Linked DNA regions of Homo sapiens: region 2 is linked to region 1. Evidence: promoter capture Hi-C in human tissues and cell types (Jung and others, 2019). All regions are on one chromosome and are shown on one strand. Each heading gives the region's core, a stretch centred on a gene start or on the middle of the fragment in contact. The rest is flanking DNA. Distances are from core to core; before and after follow the strand shown. Region 1 holds the start of DEPDC1B (DEP domain containing 1B). Region 2 overlaps KIF2A (kinesin family member 2A).

Evidence for each region. Contacts are between HindIII fragments. The study calls those that stand out against the background at their distance.
Region 2: a fragment that was not itself captured here is called in contact with the fragment with the promoter of DEPDC1B in region 1 in 1 of the 25 tissues and cell types used here (hippocampus).

What each region holds. Positions count from the first base shown.
Region 1 is chr5:60,696,569-60,702,005 of GRCh38, forward strand. It overlaps DEPDC1B (DEP domain containing 1B), which reads right to left and starts at 3,598. Exons shown (of 11, transcript NM_018369.3): 1 at 3,478-3,598. The coding sequence starts at 3,525. LOC124900982 (a long non-coding RNA gene) reads left to right here and starts at 3,672. Exons shown (of 2, transcript XR_007058779.1): 1 at 3,672-3,773; 2 at 5,086-5,437. The HindIII fragment of the contact is 4,370 bases long and covers 1,918-5,437 here.
Region 2 is chr5:62,356,739-62,362,530 of GRCh38, forward strand. It overlaps KIF2A (kinesin family member 2A), which reads left to right. Exons shown (of 21, transcript NM_001098511.3): 8 at 953-1,007; 9 at 1,399-1,561; 10 at 4,504-4,594; 11 at 4,728-4,791; 12 at 5,712-5,792. Among named protein-coding and RNA genes, the nearest start is that of DIMT1, 44 kb to the right of the region's middle. The HindIII fragment of the contact is 5,869 bases long and covers 1-5,708 here.

The sequences.
Region 1 (5,437 bases), core at 2,348-4,847:
TGGAAACAAAATATCCTCTGTCAATAAATAACAAGAAAGAGCTTGAGTTTTTTTTTCATGACATTATATTTGAAGAGAATCTTTACAACAAATGGAACAAAACAGATTTGTTTTATGATTTTAAAACACTTTTTGTTTTGCTCTACTTATTAATTTCAGTCCCCTAGTTTCTCAGGAAAAAATAAAATCACACAATTGTTTTTTCTTAACATGATGAGGCAAACTATAAGACATACACCTACTGCTGTGCATCCTGTTCTTTTCTCCAGGATATTCCATTTCATTTCTTCTTAGTACCAAAAATATTATGATAGCGGTGCTATAAAGAAAACTGACTGGTCTGGGAGTTCAGTGACAACCACTCCTAGATCTACTTGCACTTGCCACAACCTCGTTGTGTGATCTTGCCATTCTAACTCTCAGATTCAATGAAAGCTGTATGTCTTTTAAAATTTATCAGTTGCATCAGACCATATATATAACTCAGAATAAGTTCAAAGATTTAAGCAGTTTCTAGAAAAAAAATTTTTCTCTCTACTTGAATGAACTATTTATACCAAGTTTACAAAGATGAAAGTTATTTCAGTGAAAATGTATAAATGGATAACTAGCTTCACATTTATCATGAGTTGGGGCTGTCATTTGACTTTTGTCATAACATTTTACCTAATCCACAAAATGTTATTTTCAAATAAGACTTTGGTGCTTTAGAAAAAGCACCAAAGAGCTTTTTCTAAAGCTGTACATGCTTTGAGAAAGTAAAGTGAGCCATGAAAGGAGAAAATAAAGGCCTAGTTTTTGTATCCCAATAGATTTTTACCAAGCTTCCCCTGAAGAAAGTTTAGAATGAGCATGATGGGAAAAGGGAGAAATTGTATGCTGCAGATAGAGGGAGGAAAGGCCAACTAGGTCCAACAAGTAAAAAGAGGACTAGTCTCAAACTATTAAATATATGATTTACCTAGCAAAAGCTTTAAGTCACAGCTGAATTACACTGGGGAAACAATTACAGACTTTACAATGGAAAGAAGCATCTTCAATGTTGGCTGCAATCACTGACAGCAGGAATACTCACTTTTGAAAAAAAAAATTGGCTATTGTTTTCTGTTTTCCACATCTTAGTTTAATATTATGTTCCTCAAACACTATGAAGTTGAGAACTGAATTGATTACCTGGGAAATTCTGGTGAAACTGAGGTGTTTGTTTCATTAATTATCCATGTCATTTATCTTCTTAACTTAATCAACCTAAATTTAGCCTGAATATTATTTGTTAGGGACTGAAGACTTCTAGAGAGCAGAGAGCACCTTTTTTTAATTAAACAAATTCCTTTGATAATATTTTAATGTGACTCAAGAATCCAGCACTATCTATATATGGACCCTCTGCATCCATGAAAAGAAGTACCTCATACAATTCTGTGAATATGAGACTAAAATACAATTCCAATTATGAGGTATTTTTTTTTTAGTCTAATGCAGGAAGAATGAAGACTAGTCACGTCAAGAACCACAGCCTTGCTATGTTTTCCTTGTGTAAGTGCTGTAAATAAATTGGTGAAGGGAATGATCAAATGCCTTATTTTCCTCCCTAAAGTTAGACTTATCAATATTCTTGACCCCAGATCATTCTGGTGTCTATACTGTATAGAGTGTTCGCAAAGATGAGTGCAATGATTCTTCCCATCCTCTCCACATGCACCTCTGTGGCTTTGCCACCCTGCCCATCAAGAAGTGGAGTTGAATTTCTAGAATCTGGATTTAGCTGTTTAACTTGCTTTGACCAATGAGATTTGAAGAAAAAGTCACAAGCTGAAACTTCCTTTTAGCTACGTTGGAACCATGAGACCACTACGTGAAGATGCCTCCGATAACCTGTTAGAGATATCTGGCCCAGGTAACAGCCAGGACCAAGTCAAGCAGCCATCTTCCATCATCCAGTAATAGCCAAGTCACATTATTTGTGGCACATGAGTGACCTCCACAAAAGAACCATTGACATGAGTCTAGCCCAGATTACTGATCCAAAGGATGAGCAAATAAAATGCTTGTCTTTATGCCAAATAAAACAATGTCACAGACTCTCCCAATCTCCTTATTATTTTTTTTTTTTTTTGAGATGGAGTTTCGCTCGTTGCCCAGGCTGGAGTGCAATGGCGCGATCTCAGCTCACTGCAACCTCTGCCTCCCAGGTTCAAGAGATTCTCCTGCCTCAGCCTCCTGAGTAGCTGAGACTATAGGCGCATGCCACCATGCCCAGCTAATTTTTGTATTTTTAGTACAGACGGGGTTTTGCTGTGTTGGCCAGGCTGGTCTCGAACTCCTGACCTCAAGCGATCCATCCCCTTAAATCATGTAAAATTTCATGAGTATGTGCCATGTGCAGTTTTCTGTGAAGAAGATCCTTAATCTTCATCAGATTCTCAAAGCGATCTATGAGCCAAATTTAAAAAGTAAAGACCCATCAGCCCCAACTATGATTTCTCTTCCAGAAGCTGGCCTTCTCAGCTCTGGCTTGACTTACTGGTATAGTGTGTGGCTGGCTTTGGAAAGAAAAGGAAACTCTATTTACATTATCTGTATCCCAGCATCCTCACCTCTTCCATGAGTCTAGCTGAGTAAGAGTTTGGATGTTAGTTCCCATCTTTTCCTGTGTATTCATTATAATGCATGGAACTATGAGAGTAATTCCCATGTTAAATGTGGCCAGAGAGGTCGGCAGACCAAGGAGCAAGTTACTGTCCTCCCAAATTACCATTACACTTCCACAGAAAGTCCTCTAAAAACTTGCCACAGACATTACCAAACTGTCACCCTTTATTGTTCCAAGTCAAAGCAGACCAAGTACACCTCAATACCAAAGCTTTTCTCCCAGAAAAAAAAAAAAAAAAAAACAGGAACTCAGAGTCGGCAAAGACTCTCCTAAAACATCTGTCCTGGCCAGCTCTTCATCTGGATCGGTGCTGACAGAAACAGAAACGCCAGGGGCCGGAAATGCGGCCAGCGCGATGCCCCTCTGTTCTGGGCACCGTTTATTCGAATACCCCGTCAGGTATCATCAGGTGTCACTCAGGAAGGAGACACGCCCTGCCTGGACTGCCGCGAACGCTGAGCGTTACGGGGTACGTGGTGGCCCCTCAGGTTACCGACCGGGTCGGTTAGATTCCAGAGGACAAAAGGCAGGGAACAGCCTGGTCTTGGGGTCTTTAAACAGAGAGGCGCCATCTACTGCCGAGAACCCAGTCAACATCTCATGGACAAAGCTGCACTAACCCCCGGCCGGCTGAGCTCTGGGCCCCGTTAGCCTTTCTTTGAGGCTCGTCCACTAAAAGGCAGCCCCAGTAGTCCCAGCTGAAATGCTCCACACCCGAGCCCCGCTGGCCTGCGGAAGCGAAGACTGACAAGCACTCTGTCCGCGCGCTGAGTGGGGGCTCGCGGCACCGGGTGCTCCGCCCAGGCCCCAGCACACTCACTCACCAGCCTGGTAGCTCGGTACGGCCCGGGCCCCACGATGCGATGCTCCATGGCGCGTAGGCAGCAGCGGCCGCAGCCGCGCCAGCGCTGATCCCCGCCAGCCGGAGGAGCAGCAGTTTGAATCCCAAGCCCGCGGGCTGCGGGCGCTGATTGGGCGGCGCGGCAGCACGTCACCGGAAATGCGCGGGGAGGCAGGCGTCTTCTCCGAGACCCGCGGCGCTGGGAGCTCCGCGTGCGAACTTGCCCGGGGCGAAATCTGTTGCCCACCCTGGTCCCACCGTGCGAGCACACCTAGGCAGGTGCGACTAAGGGGCCGGGGGCGTCTCCCCAGCGCTGGAAAACGCTGTGCAGCGCCCTTCCCAGATTTCTGCGTCCGCGCAACACAAACACACGCAACGCTATCTCTACAAAAGGGTCAATAATAGGTGTTATCCAGCGACCGAAACCCAGCTTTGGGCCGCGTGGATAAATACCTGTCCTCCCTACCAAGTGCACTGTGAGCCTGGAGGTGCTGCTAACGCTGGGAGAAGCGGTAGTGAAATGAAGCGAGGCGACAGCTTTTACCAGTGTAGGGACATTTAAAAACGGGATAGAGAGCACAAGGAGCGTAGACAGTGTGTTAAGGGCAATAAAGAGCGGGAAGGGAGCCCCGATTCCTCTTCTGTTTGTTCTCATGATAGTCTTTTCCCCTTTAATTTGAGTTCTATGTTTTGTATTGGGCTGATACTTTTAGTCCTCGGCAATAGGGTTGTGAGTCCTTTTTTGACTGCTTAGAATTTTCCCCCTGGGAATTGCTAGTCCGATTTGCAATCTTTCAGAGGGACAAATGAAGTAACTCCATATACTTAGGACTCTGTACACCTACTCAAATTTGGTCATCTCGGTAAGTACCCAGGACAAGACGTTGAAGGAGTGAAGGTGTGCCATTCCAAAATATGCCTAATTGGTATATTGATTATTTCGAGCGGAAAACATTGGAGAAATGGTAGTTTCAGAAAGGGCAAGCTGACCTGCCTCTTCGATGCAGCAGGCCACAAAGATTTCTCTGGGATGGGCATCCTCTCCCTACCACGGTGAGAAAATAGCCTTTATCACCAAAGGCTTGGAATTGAAGGCTGCAGTGGACCTGAATAAACATTCTTAACGAAGTAACCCTATCTTCCACTAGGAGATATAGGAGATTTTTTACATATATCTTCTAGTGACTCCCTAGAAAATGTTACTGCCTTTGTGAGCTGTGGAAGTTAACTCGAGTCACAGGGCACCAAAATATGTTAGCAGCTGCCCATATCCGAGACACGGCCCCAAAGTATGTTACAGGCAGTGAATTCCTACAGATCTGCAGCAACCTCAATTCTTGACTCCTCAGAAGAAAGAGTTCGACTGAGGGGCATAAGGCAAAAGGAGAGACCAAGGCAAGTATTAGAACAGAAGTGAAGTTTATTAAAAAGCTTTGAATGAAAGGAAGTACACTTGGAAGAGGGCCAAGCCAGTGACTTGAGAGATCTAGTGCGTAGTTTGACCTTTTGACCTGGGGTTTTATACGTTGGCATACTTCTGGGGTCTTGCTTTTGGGGCTTTGCATTACTTCTCTCCTGATTCTTCCCTTAGAGTGAGCTGTCCACAGGCGCATACTTGAGCCCACTTGCCCAACTCCTAAGATCTTATCGGGAAGCTGCTGATCAACAGTTCAAGTGTTTTCTATTAGGAGACTGCCTTTCCCTGGTGCCGGCTGTGACCAACTATTATTTTAGAGAGACAATTAACAACCACCTGACCATCACCTGATGGCTGCCTGACATTCCTGATGTGTGTGTGTATGAGGGGGAGCCCTCTCCTGCCCTGCTCATGCCTGACTAGCTACCTACTGTAACACCTTAACCAGATTTTCTTTGTCATGGCTTTTCTTCTCAAATTTATCTCTCTTTACCTAAAAAAATGAATAAAAGCATCTTACTTTGGC
Region 2 (5,792 bases), core at 1,524-4,023, 1.7 Mb after region 1:
ATGTTGACTTTTGTTGTGTATAGCACATCTTGAAGTGGATAATACAGCTTTTTTTTTTTTTTTTTGGAGACACAGTCTTCTCTGTTGCCCAGGCTGAGGTGGAGTGGCAGGATCTCGGCTCACTACAACCTCCACCTCCAGGGTTCAGGCAATTCTCGTGCCTCAGCCACCTGAGTAGCTGGAATTACAGGCATGCACCACCATGCCCAGCTAGTTTTTATATTTTTAGTAGTGATGGAGTTTTACCATGTTGGCCAGGCTGGTCTTGAACTCCTGACCTCAAGTGATCCACCCACCTTAGCCTCCCAAAGTGCTGGGATTACCCACCATGCCTGGCATCACAACTTCTTTTTTTTTTTGGTCCAGAGATAAAGTCTCACTGTCACCCAGGCTGGTGGGCAGAGGCATAATCTCGGCCCGCTGCAACCTCCACCTCCCAGGTTCAAGTGATTCTCCCACATCAGCCTCCCGAGTAGCTGGGACTACAGGCATGCACCACCACTCCCGGCTAATTTTTATATTTTTAGTAGAAATGGGGTTTCTCCATGTTGGCCAGGCTAGTCTCAAACTCCTGACCTCAGGTGATCTGCCCACCTTAGCCTCCCAAAGTGCTGGGATTATAGGAATGAGCCATCATGCCCGGCCTCCTCACAGCTTCTTAATGTGAACTTAATGCTACTAACAATAGTAGTACCCTCTACAGAATTATTTCCTAAAGTGATGGTTTTCCAAATAACAAAATAAGCAAGTTTCCATTACACTCAGAATTTTAGAAGTAATTATATCTGACAACCATTAAAATTTGTGCAAAGCTAATTTGTTTTTTAAGCTTACCTATCATTTATGCTATGTATAAATTTCTAAAACCCCTGGAGGAAATATTACATAATTTACGTTTTAGTGTTTTACATGACACTAATAATCACTGAAATAAAATACTTTTTATTTCTAGATTGATGAACATAGGATATGTGTGTGTGTAAGAAAACGACCACTCAATAAAAAAGGTATGGCACTTAATGAGCTCTAATAAAAGATTGATTTTATCTTATTTGTAATGTATTTTTATAATAGCAAATCAAATTGGTTTGGAAAAAATGTAAATCATTTCCTTTGATTTGTATGTAACCATTATGCAGATTTCTATGGCTAAACTTGTCAGTTTGTTATTGCTCTGAATCATTGCCATTCCGAGTCTTGCTTCACAGAAATCTTGATTTTGTTTTTACTTTGCTGTTGAAATATTTTGTCTTAGTGAGTTGCATTTTTATGGGATATTATCTTTATATGTACAGAACTTACTACTTGTATCTTAGTTCTTACTACTTAAAATAATTTTGTACATGAACTCAAATGCTGTGAAAATTATTGGGCATTGATTTTCATTTATTCTTTTAGAAACTCAAATGAAAGATCTTGATGTAATCACAATTCCTAGTAAAGATGTTGTGATGGTACATGAACCAAAACAAAAAGTAGATTTAACAAGGTACCTAGAAAACCAAACATTTCGTTTTGATTATGCCTTTGATGACTCAGCTCCTAATGAAATGGTTTACAGGTAGGTAAATTCATTTTAAATCAGAATTTTGTTCTTATGCCATGTGGTCATCAGCACCTTGAAATTTACATTGATTGTGGGATATTTCTTAAGAGGTGCAATATGCTGTTTTATTCTGAGTTTAAACAAAGAGAATGTAATAAATGCTGTAATGAATATTAACACTTGTTCTCTGTAATGCTCCCCAAAATCATAGTTTCCATTACTATTTGCTAATTAGCTTATTACACATATATATACATATATATACATATCACACAAACCATGTATATGGATAAGAAATTTCGGGAAAATGTTAACATTACCTCTAGGAATAGGATATGATAAGAAGACTTTTAATTTTTACCTTTTAATCTCTGTACTAATAAAGAAACTTGAAATGTTTGTTTGAGGCATGGTCTTGCTCTGTTGCCCAGGCTGGAGTGCAGTGGCACGATCACAGCTCACTGCAGCCTCGACCTTCCAGGCTCAGGTGATCCTCCCATCTCAGCCTCCTGAGTAGCTGGGACCACAGGCATGCACCACCACACCCAGCTAATTTTTGTACTTTTTGTAGAGTTGAGGTTTCGCCATGTTGCCCAGGCTAACCTCAGACTCCTGAGCTCAAGTGATCTGCCCGCCTTGGCTTCCCAAAGTGCTGGGATTACAGGCATGAGCCACTGTTATGCCTGGCCAAAATACCTGTTATCAGTTAATTATTAATTTATCTAAATCTGTATTTAGTATGTATTGTCACTTAAGGCGAAAAAGTTCCGTACTTGTATTTAAATTTGTCATCTTTAAGCTTGGAGATAGTTTTAGTACATGAGATTCTTGTATGTTTTCTGTATTCAACTTAAAAATAATTCAAATTTATCTGTGTTATACATTGGTATCTCAAATTTTTATGCCAGATTTAGATTTTCATACGTAAGTTTGCAAACATTCATTTCTAATAATTATAACACCAGTTTTAGCAGTATTGTTATTTTGGTTTATCTAGGAATATTACTGTCTTTGTAATTGCTTGAATACTATATCTGATTGCCCTTTTTCATAAAAATGCCTAGAAAGGAAAAAATTAGAGTTAATGAGACTAAGAATTGAAGGTGTTACAAAGGAAATACTTTTGAGACCAACTCTTTTTGTCTTCACCAAGTGTACTGGGTAGTCAGTTGTAAAAAAAAAAAGGATCAAATTAAAGGACATATGAATACTAGATAGAGATATTTGTGAAGAATATGTTTAAAGGGGAATCATAATTGTTAATTGTAGAATTTTTTTTTAGCTTTCTGAAGAGTCCACTTTTCCTTTTCATTCCCTCTTTCTACTCCTGCCTCATAAAATATAAGTTTGACTTTTATAATAGTTTTTAAGAAATTATTACAAATACAGGCATGTTTCTGTGTGTATGATTTAGTAAACATTGTGTTTTTACCCTATGTTTATGTTTCTTAACTTTATCAATATTTATCCTTCTCCTCTATCTCTTATACTTAACTATTATGGATTGAGGAGTTACATGTTTTTTTGTGGGTAGGGTTGGGAGGTAGGGGTTTGATCTACTTAGCAGGCTCATCCCTAGTTCTGTTTGACCAGAACTTTTTCCTGCTCCTTTTGTTCTGTACTTTCTTCAGTTTTGCCTTTTACAAAACAAAACAAAGACAGCAGTTATATAAAATGTTCTACTTGTAGATCTGTTTTCCATCTTTTTTTTTTTTTGTTTTTTTGAGGCTGAGTTTTGCTCTTGTCGCCCAGGCTGGAGTGCAGTGGCATGATCTCGGCTCACTGCAACCTCTGCCTCCCAGTTCAAGCGATTCTCCTGCCTCAGCCTCCTGAGTAGCTGGGATTACAGGCGTGTGCCACCACGTTCAGCTAATTTTGTATTTTTAGTAGAGACGGGGTTTCACCATGTTGGTCAGGCCGGTCTCGAACTCCTGACCTCAAGTGATCCACCCACCTCAGCCTCCCAAAGTGTTGGGATTACAGGCATGAGCCACCACGCCTGGCCTCCATCATACTTTTTAGTGTACTGCTCAGGGGAAAAGTACTTCTTATACCTTCCCACCTTTTTATTTTAACTCTAGCAGTGGGTTATACCAATACATTTGAAATATAATTCAAGGCCGGGTGCGGTGGCTCATGCCTGTAATCCCAGCACTTTGGGAGGCCAAGGCGGGCAGATCGCCTGTGGTCAGGAGTTTGAGACCAGCCTGACCAACGTGGTGAAACCACGTCTCTACTAAAAATACAGAAATTAGCTGGGTGTGGTGGCAGGTGCCTGTAATCCCAGCTACTCGGGAGGCTGAGGCAGGAGAATCACTTGAACCCGGGAGGCGGAGGTTGCAGTGAGCTGAGATCGCGCCATTTGCACTCCAGCCTGGGGGACGAGAACGAGACTTCGTCTCAAAAAAAAAAAAATGTAATTCAAACCATAATATTTAGGTATCCTTTTCCTAAATTGAGAGTGTCAACTTACTAATAGAATTCATTTTCCTACAAGCACAATTTATATTCTTTTTGCTTAAGTATAAATTACTTGTCTAAATTCAAGGTAATCAACATTTTTCTATTTATTTAGATGGTCTATAGATAATATTTTTGCAGTTTTTTTCCTCTATTAACTTTTTAAAATTGAGATTACCACTCTTGTTTATTCTGTTTCTGTTGAAATTATAATACTTTGTGTTTGTTTTTATTGTATATGCCTTATTGTGACCATTATTTATTATGGAAATATTGCTTGAAATTATGCTTTAAGTAGTTTAAGTAATTTTAGCATATGATATTTAAAATTCTTAAATCAATTCTTCGATATTGTTATTTAAAATTTTTAACAAAGATTTGTTTAGAATCTTGCTATTAAGTTTTATTTATTAATAAAATACTTTGTATTACTCAGCATTACTATTATTCATCAAAATATTGGTGACACATTCTGACTGATGCATTTTATTTTTAAGGTTTACTGCTAGACCACTAGTGGAAACTATATTTGAAAGGGGAATGGCTACATGCTTTGCTTATGGGCAGACTGGAAGTGGAAAAACTCATGTAAGTAATTTATTAAAGTTACATTCTGGTACGAAGCTACAGTTTCTTTTCCTTATAGCTTAATTCTGTGAACTAAATTCTTAAGAGTTATTCCTGAGTAATGTCTGTTCTTTATTTTCTTTTTAAAATATAGACTATGGGTGGTGACTTTTCAGGAAAGAACCAAGATTGTTCTAAAGGAATTTATGCATTAGCAGGTAACTGTCCTTTTTCCATAAAATTTGGAATATTCTTCTGTGGTATTATTCAGGTAACTTTGAAATAAGGCTTTAAAATATTGTTCAGCAACTATAATGCTATATTAACTGTCTATTATGTCAATTATAGGTTATTAGATTGCTTGAAAAGAACTATAAGATTATATATTCACAATAATTTTTTTTTTTTTTAAGAAGACAAGAACTGTAGGCTGGGTGTGGTGGTTCATGCCTGTAATCCCTGCACTTTGGGAGGCCAAGGTGGGTGGATCACTTGAGGTCAGGAGTTCGAGACCAGCCTGGCCAACATGGTGAAACTCCATCTCTACTAAAAATACAAAAAAAAACTTAGCCAGGCGTGGTGGCGGGCGCCTGTAATCCCAGCTACTCAGGAGGCTGAGGCAGAATTGTTTGATCATTTGAACCCAGGAAGCAGAGGTTGCAGTGAGCCAAGATCATGCCACTACACTTCAGCCTGGGCAACAGACCAAGACCCCATCTCAAAAAAAAAAAAAAGAACTGTAAGATTGATTTTGAGGGGGCAGAAATCTTGATTATATTTGTCAGTGCATTCTAGCACATTGTTGGAGATGAGTCTCAATTGTTGAATTTCTGAACTGTAAAAAGCTACTAGCTATGGTATAAGAATAACCTCATTATGACCACCTATAATTTTATGCTATTTATAAATATAAATATTAATATATATAAATAAAAGTAGCACCCTTTTATGGCATATGAAAGAGAATAGCTTCTATTAATACTATTTTTTGTAAAATTAATATTCACTTTCTCATTTTTATTATTGATACTGTTATCCTAGGTAAAGAGTAACTGATTCCTCTAGAAATAGAAAATTTGAGTTGCTTTTTAAAAATATTTGTTGGATCTCAATTTTCTGTATATGAAATTTTTGACAGCTCGAGATGTCTTTTTAATGCTAAAGAAGCCAAACTATAAGAAGCTAGAACTTCAAGTATATGCAACCTTCTTTGAAATTT